Regions from separate parts of the Homo sapiens genome. Here all the other regions are linked to region 2. Evidence: promoter capture Hi-C in 16 types of primary human blood cells and fetal thymus (Javierre and others, 2016). All regions are on one chromosome and are shown on one strand. Each heading gives the region's core, a stretch centred on a gene start or on the middle of the fragment in contact. The rest is flanking DNA. Distances are from core to core; before and after follow the strand shown.

The links. The method cuts DNA at HindIII sites, captures the fragments that hold promoters and counts their contacts. A CHiCAGO score of 5 or more calls a contact.
Region 1: the fragment with the promoter of NPPA here is called in contact with the fragment with the promoter of CIROZ in region 2 in 4 of 17 cell types (naive B cells, non-activated CD4 T cells, total B cells and 1 more); the score reaches 8.2 in naive B cells.
Region 3: a fragment that was not itself captured here is called in contact with the fragment with the promoter of CIROZ in region 2 in 2 of 17 cell types (M2 macrophages and endothelial precursors); the score reaches 5.1 in M2 macrophages.

What each region holds. Positions count from the first base shown.
Region 1 is chr1:11,846,510-11,849,209 of GRCh38, reverse strand. NPPA (natriuretic peptide A) reads left to right here and starts at 1,427. Exons shown (of 3, transcript NM_006172.4): 1 at 1,427-1,648; 2 at 1,771-2,097. The coding sequence starts at 1,526. It also overlaps NPPA-AS1. RefSeq lists an enhancer at 601-2,391. The HindIII fragment of the contact is 12,440 bases long and covers 1-2,700 here.
Region 2 is chr1:10,980,699-10,983,398 of GRCh38, reverse strand. It overlaps CIROZ (ciliated left-right organizer protein containing ZP-N domains), which reads left to right and starts at 1,323. Exons shown (of 13, transcript NM_001170754.2): 1 at 1,323-1,387. The coding sequence starts at 1,362. The HindIII fragment of the contact is 7,392 bases long and covers 1-2,700 here.
Region 3 is chr1:11,617,219-11,619,918 of GRCh38, reverse strand. No RefSeq gene overlaps it. Among named protein-coding and RNA genes, the nearest start is that of LINC01647, 9.0 kb to the right of the region's middle. The HindIII fragment of the contact is 950 bases long and covers 943-1,892 here.

The DNA.
Region 1 (2,700 bases), core at 178-2,677, 870 kb before region 2:
TTTACCTCAGCCTCCCTAGTAGCGGGGATTACAGGCACATGCCACCACACCCAGCTAATTTTTATATTTTTAGTAGAGACAGAGTTTTGCCATGTTGGTAGGGCTGGTCTCAAACTCCTGGCCTCAGGTGATCCACCCACCTTAGCCTCCCAAAGTGCTGGGATTATACGTGTGAGCCACTGCACCCGGCCGGTTTTTAACATTCTTTCTCATTTTACACACAAGGAAAGTAAGGCTGCGAAGAGGTATGCAACTGGTTTGTTTTGGGCTACAGTACTGGTCTCTCAGCCCTTCAAATTTAGAGTTTTCCCCCAGTATACGTTGCATTGAATGGTAATGGCTAACACTGAGTTCAGTGCTTAGCAAACAGGCCATTCATTAAACATAGACAGACTTGCTGCCTGTTATTTCCCTTTTGGGGGCCAGGGAAATTGTGACCTTGGTGGCTCGGTCACTTGCCACTTGCCACGTCCTCAGGGAAGGATGTAGAAGGCATTGAGGGAAACTGACTATACCTCCTTCACCCCCACCTCCCTTCCTCCATCGGTCAAGTTGCCACGGGCACAAGCCCAGGAAGGGCAGGGGGATGTTAACAAACTTCAGACACGAAGAGTCTGAGCATCTATAAACAGCAACGGAAGAAATGAAATTGGCTGCGTCCTCTAAGCCTGTCCCCGCAGCATGCTGGAGGAGGGTCGCGGGGGACATGGAAGAGGAGGAGCTTTGGAGAGAGGATGCTTGTGCTCCCCCGCCTTTTCTTGCTATTTCTATTTGGGGGTTGGATTCCTGGGAGCTTCATCACATTTGGTTCTCAGCTGACTTTATATACTAAAAAATAACTTCCTTTCGCCTGACCATGGAGAGGGACTGCCAGGGGTGAAGGCAGCCCTGTCTGAGGCCAGAGGTCTGCCCACGTGGCGGATGAGGCAGGTGTGAGGCCAGCTTGAGCATCTGGATCCATTTGTCTCGGGCTGCTGGCTGCCTGCCATTTCCTCCTCTCCACCCTTATTTGGAGGCCCTGACAGCTGAGCCACAAACAAACCAGGGGAGCTGGGCACCAGCCAAGCGTCACCCTCTGTTTCCCCGCACGGGTACCAGCGTCGAGGAGAAAGAATCCTGAGGCACGGCGGTGAGATAACCAAGGACTCTTTTTTACTCTTCTCACACCTTTGAAGTGGGAGCCTCTTGAGTCAAATCAGTAAGAATGCGGCTCTTGCAGCTGAGGGTCTGGGGGGCTGTTGGGGCTGCCCAAGGCAGAGAGGGGCTGTGACAAGCCCTGCGGGATGATAACTTTAAAAGGGCATCTCCTGCTGGCTTCTCACTTGGCAGCTTTATCACTGCAAGTGACAGAATGGGGAGGGTTCTGTCTCTCCTGCGTGCTTGGAGAGCTGGGGGGCTATAAAAAGAGGCGGCACTGGGCAGCTGGGAGACAGGGACAGACGTAGGCCAAGAGAGGGGAACCAGAGAGGAACCAGAGGGGAGAGACAGAGCAGCAAGCAGTGGATTGCTCCTTGACGACGCCAGCATGAGCTCCTTCTCCACCACCACCGTGAGCTTCCTCCTTTTACTGGCATTCCAGCTCCTAGGTCAGACCAGAGCTAATCCCATGTACAATGCCGTGTCCAACGCAGACCTGATGGATTTCAAGGTAGGGCCAGGAAAGCGGGTGCAGTCTGGGGCCAGGGGGCTTTCTGATGCTGTGCTCACTCCTCTTGATTTCCTCCAAGTCAGTGAGGTTTATCCCTTTCCCTGTATTTTCCTTTTCTAAAGAATTTGCTGGACCATTTGGAAGAAAAGATGCCTTTAGAAGATGAGGTCGTGCCCCCACAAGTGCTCAGTGAGCCGAATGAAGAAGCGGGGGCTGCTCTCAGCCCCCTCCCTGAGGTGCCTCCCTGGACCGGGGAAGTCAGCCCAGCCCAGAGAGATGGAGGTGCCCTCGGGCGGGGCCCCTGGGACTCCTCTGATCGATCTGCCCTCCTAAAAAGCAAGCTGAGGGCGCTGCTCACTGCCCCTCGGAGCCTGCGGAGATCCAGCTGCTTCGGGGGCAGGATGGACAGGATTGGAGCCCAGAGCGGACTGGGCTGTAACAGCTTCCGGGTAAGAGGAACTGGGGATGGAAATGGGATGGGATGGACACTACTGGGAGACACCTTCAGCAGGAAAGGGACCAATGCAGAAGCTCATTCCCTCTCAAGTTTCTGCCCCAACACCCAGAGTGCCCCATGGGTGTCAGGACATGCCATCTATTGTCCTTAGCTAGTCTGCTGAGAAAATGCTTAAAAAAAAAAGGGGGGGGGGCTGGGCACAGTGGCTCACGCCTGTAATCCCAGCACTTTGGGAGGCCGAGGCAGGCGGATCATGAGGTCAAGAGATCAAGACTATCCTGGCCAACATGGTGAAACCCCAGCTCTACTAAAAATACAAAAATTAGCTGGGTGTGGTGGCGGGCACCTGTACTCTCAGCTACTTGGGAGGCTGAGGCAGGAGAATCACTTGAACCCAGGAGGCAGAGGTTGCAGTGAGCAGAGATCACGCCACTGCAGTCCAGCCTAGGTGATAGAGCGAGACTGTCTCAAAAAAAAAAAAAAAAGGCCAGGCACGGTGGCTCACGCCTGTAATCCCAGCGCTTTGGGAGGCCAAGGCGGGTGGATCACGAGGTCAGGAGATGGAGACCATCCTGGCTAACACGGTGAAACCCCG
Region 2 (2,700 bases), core at 74-2,573:
TCTCCTCTTCCTTTTTTTTTTTTTTTTTGAGACGGAGTCTTATTGTATCGCCCAGGCTGGAGTGCAATGGCACGATCTCAGCTGTCTGCAATCTCTGCCTTCCAGGTTCAAGCGATTCTCCTGCCTCAGCCTCCAGAGTAGCTGGGATTACAGGTGCCCACCACCAAGCCCGGCTATTTTTTGTATTTTTGGTAGAGACAGGGTTTCACCATGTTGGCCAGGCTGGTCTCAAACTCCTGACCTGATGATCCACCCACCTCAGCCTCCCAAAGTGCTAGGATTACAGGCGTGAGTCACTGCGCCTGGTCTTTTTTTTTTTTTTTTTTTTTTTTTTTTTTTTTTTTTTTTTTTTTAGACGGAGTTTTGCTCTTGTCACCCAGGCTGCAGTACAATGGTACGATCTTGGCTCACTGCAACCTCCATCTCCCGGGTTCAAGCAATTCTCCTGCCTTAACTTCCCAAGTAGCTGGGATTACAGGCGTGCACCCCCACACCTGGCTAGTTTTGTATTTTTAGTAGAGATAAGGTTTCACCATGTTGGCCAGGCTGGTCTCGAAGTCCTGACATCAGGTGATCAGCCTGCCTCGCCCTCCCAAATCACTGGGATTATGGGCATGAGTGACTGTGCCCGGCCCCTTTTTTTTTTTTTTTTAGACAGGGTCTTGTTCTGTTGCCCAGGCTGGAGTGCAGTAGCACAATCAGGGCTCACTGCAGCCTCAACCTCCTGGGCTCAAGCAATCCTCTCACCTCAGCCTCCTGAGTAGCTAGGACCACAGGTGTGTGCCACCATGCCCAGCTAGTTTTTAAATTTTTTGTAGAGACAGGGTCTTGCCATGTTCCCCTGGCTTGTTTCGAACTCCTGACCTCAAACAATCTGCCCATCTCTGCATCCCAAAATGCTGGGGTTACAGGCATGAGCCACCATGCCTGGCCCCTCAGCTCCTTTTGAACTCTGCCAGGAGGGGCCTGGAGCAGGGTTCTGGGAAGCCCCATCAAGACAGCGTGACTGTTCCTCCGGTGAAGCTCAGTTTCTTAGCTTCTTTCCTTCCTTGGGCACAGAGACAGGCTTCTCCCGGGAGCGGAGAATGAGGGCCTGCACTCCAGCCTCAGTGGATCAATTCATCTTCAGCCTTCTGATCCGCAATCTTATTTTGAGCTCCCACGGCTGAAGCAATTCATCTCACCCATGCAGAGGGATGGGGAGAAGCTGAGAGTGTTGACACCCACCTGTGTTTTCTGGCACCTGAGTGACCCGAGACCTGCACTGGAGGGGAAGGGGAGGAGCCAACCTTTCGTTTAGTTGCTTGGAACTGCTTCAGATTAAATTCTCCCAGGGCAGGAGAGAGCTGCTGGGCCTGAGGATGTGGGGGTCCCCAGCACTTGCCTGGTAAGTGTCCCTTATTCAGGAATTGGGAGAAGCCAGTGGCATGCTTAGTGTGCCCACACTCCTTGAAGAAGCCAAATATCTTCCATCAGAATCAGAAGCCTTGCATCTAAGAGGGAAGGGGGCCAAATGGGTGAGGGGCCCAGATGCATGGATGCCTTGGGAAGGGCTGACTTTCTCAGGTGAGGTCCGGCCACAGTCTCTCCCACCTTTCTCATGCTCCTGTCATCCCTTGTTCTGGAATTCCAGTCCTCCCATCTTGGGAAGGATTTCCAGAAGATTGGGAGAAAACAGAACACGTCTTCCTTGTCCTAGAGGGTCCTTAAAACAAAACAAATTAGGGGTCAAGTTGACCAAGAGATGCTTGATTTCAAGGAGTTTTCAAATGATAGGAGTTGTGGTCGCTAGCTATTCGATTGTAAGGATTAGGAGAAAATTTCATTTTCCTTCCTTCCCTCCCTTCCTTCCTTCCCTCCCTGCCTTCCTTCCTTTCTCCTTCCTTCCTTCCCTTTCCTTTCTTTTCTCTTTCTCTCTCTCTCTCCCTCTCTGTCTCTCCTTCTTCCTGAGATAGAGTCTTGCTCTGTTGCCCAGGCTGGAGTGCAGTGGCAAGATCATAGTTCACTGTCATCTCTTAACTCCTGGGCTCAAGTGATCATCCCACTTTAGCCTCCTGAGTAGCTGGGACCATAGGCATGTGCCACCACACTTTGGTAATTTTTTAATTTTTTTGTAGAGACAGGGTCTTACTGTGTTGCCCAGGCTGGTCTTAAACTCCTGGGTTCAAGCCATCCTCCTGTCTCGGCCTCCCAAAGTATTGGGATTACGGGCATGACTCACTGCACTTGGCCAAAATCTCATTTTCCTTGGCAACAGAATTGCTACCTCTTTTCCCCATCTGAGATGCATTTTTAAGAGATACTTTAAAAAGCTCCTGAGAGTGGGAAGTGAAGCCTCCCAGGCCAGCTGGAATGTCACAATAGCTGGCTTGTGGCCTTTGGGCCGTGGACTGCAGGGCTTTTGTTGGGCGTTTTGTGAGGTTGAAGTCTGTAGACAATGAAGGCAGTGGAGAAGCTGAGTGGGGCTTTGTGGGGCTGGGCGAGCAAGGGGGAGGTCCGGGCCCTGTCCTGGGGACCCATTGCCTTCTCCTGGATGCCCCATGAGGGGGCTCAGCTTTGGGGGATGGAGCATCATGTCTCCCCCCAGACTGGGATGGGGCAGTTCTGGGTCTGAGAAGTGAGGGGGAAAAACCCAAACCCACATCTTTCTCCCGATTGATGCTCAAGGAGGAGAACAGGAGCAGGCATCAGACGGAGGGG
Region 3 (2,700 bases), core at 168-2,667, 640 kb before region 2:
AAACCCCGTCCCTACTAAAAATACAAAAATTAGCTGGGCATGGTGGCGGGCTCCTGTAATCCCAGCTACTTGGGAGGCTGGGGCAGGAGAATCGCTTGAACCTGGGAGGCGGAGGTTGCAGTGAGCCGAGATTGCGCCATTGCACTCCAGCCTGGGTGACAGGAGCAAAACTCCGCCTCAAAAAAAAAAAAAAAAAAAAAAAGACAGATTATTACACTCACAGATCCCAAGAGGAGCGGGCTTGTCCAGCCATGAGGGGGCACATAGGGGCAGTCAGGAGGTAGAGGGAGGGGGAAATCGTGGGCAAGAACATTTATTGTGGTATCCATGAGAAGGAACGAATGAGGCAGAGCAAGCCGGCTTAGGGTTGGCTAGTTTGAATAATTTCAGTGCATTCTGGGCCACAAGGGCTGCCCCTAGTTGTCTGGTAGATGACCCTGGAGTGATCAGGGCAGGTGGATAGTGGTCCAAAGTGTGAGAGCCAATAAAGGAGGTAGTTGCTGGTATAGACTCTGGATTGGTTGGTTTGCATTTTCAAAGCAAATGGGCTCATGGGCAAGTTGGTTACTATCTCTAAGAATTTACCAGCTCTTAACCCTCCAGGGTCACAAAGCCCCAGATGTCAAAGTATCAGAACACAGAAAATAAAAGGCATGCTTGATAAAGGAGGGGTTGGTTGACTGGTCGAAGGTCACGCAGCTTGGGAGTGAAAGAGCCCAGGTGTTTTGACTCTCGGTCCAGGACATGCCCCTGTGATCTTCAGGTGGCTTCTCCCGAGATCCCATGCCTTCCTTATGGACAAGGGCCTCCCTAGACCGTCACAGGGGCTGAGGGCAATGAAATGTTCTGCTTCCCACTTTCTGCCCCCAAACAGGTGTGTCCCAGGACCCTAGTCAGCACTGTTTTGGTTGCAAGTGACAAAAACCCCACCTTAAACAAGCTTAAGTCAAAAAGTGAGTTTATTGGCTCACATAACTGGGTGCTCAGGGTTTCCCAGTTTCAGGAAAGGCTAGATCCAGGAGCCCAAATGCTATTGTCAGGACATCATCTGTTTTGCGTATCTGGAGTCTGCGTCCCTTCAGGTGTTCTCACAAAGCCTTTCTCCACGTGTTAGGGAAGAAGGCCAATGGTAGCCCCGAACCCCTATAACTCATTACCCAAAAGGAAGAGAGATCTTCCTTGCTGGGTTCAGGTGTCAAATCTCTGATTGATCTTCTTGGGTCAGGTGTTTTTTTTTTTTTTTTTGAAACAGAGTCTTGCTCTGTCGCCCAGGGTGGATTGCAGTGGTATGATCTTAGCTCACTGCAACCTCCGCCTCCCCGGGTTCAAGCGATTCTCCTGCCTCAGCCTCCTGAGCAGCTGGGATTACAGCCACGTGCTACCATGCCAAGCTAATTTTTGTATTTTTAGTAGAGACGGGGTTTCACCATATTGGCCAGGCTGGTCTCAAACTTCCGACCTCAGATGATCCATCTGTCTCGGCCTCCCAAAGTTCTGGGATTACAGGCGTGAGCCACCACACCCAACCCATGGTGTTCATTCTTGAGCCAATCAGTGTGATCAGGGGGATTAGAATTCTGGGCAGCCTGGCCTGATCTCACACCCACGAAGTGTGTGTGTGTGTATGTCTGTGTGTGTCTGTATGTGCATGAGTGTGTGTGTGTTCCCGTGACTATGTTTTGTAGAGCATTGTGACTAAGCCCTACCAGGACCTCATGGAATGGGGGAGAGACAGGCAGAAACAGGCAGTATCTGCCCCCAATTCAATGTTCTTCATTCCTATCCACCAATTTTCCACAAAGGTCTTGCTCTGTGCCAAGGACGACTTCCTGCCCTGAGCTGGAAGGACTTTCTTGCCATCTTCCCAAAATGTCTTAACAGAAGGGCAAGCTTCCTGGTCTAGGAGTTGGGACACTGGGGTTTGGGTCATAGCACTGTCACTGAGTCACTCTGTGACCCAGGACAAGCCCCCTAAGCCTCAGTGTTCCTGTCTGGACAATGGGTGGGCTAGACTAGAAGGTCTTTAAACTGCCTCCAAGTTTGACCCTCTGTGAGTGAAGTGCTTGCTCTGAGCAAAGAGAGGTTCCGAAGCCTGCTTGCCAGGATGATGTGGGTGGGAACAGGGCTGTTAAAATACAGATTCCTAGACCCTCCCCAGGACCAGTTGGATCACACTCTCTTCGGAGCAGGACCCTGGAAGCTATTATTTTTGAGGAGTGATTCCGTTGTAGCTGGTTCACAACCTGGTGCTTGGGAACTACGGCCTAAGAAATCTGGTCCCTTGAAAGGGACAATGAACGAACTGGCTCTTTGAGGCATCTGGGCTTGTTGGCTCTGCTAGCCTAAAGCTAACAGGGTGTGTCCTGCATACAGTTGGCAAGAGACAGTAGCTGCTGAGCCAGACTGGCCCAAGAGCCTCCTGGTGGTGACTGCCCTGTGTTCTCACGTAGCAGGTGGCCTCTATGGGGACCTGGCCCTGCCAGCTGGCAGAGCATCTCGGAGCTGAGAGCTCTTCCTGGGACACTGGCAGGAGGTCTCACTCCATGCTGTTGTTGGGGATGAGATTTGGGGAAGAGATGTGCGTGCTGGCTTGGGATGGGGACCGGAGGCTGTGGGGCAGGCTGCTTAAGTCTAGTGGGGAGGGGAGCAGGGTGTGGCCTTGGGCAAGTCAGGTCATCCTCTTTGGGGCATCTGTCCTCC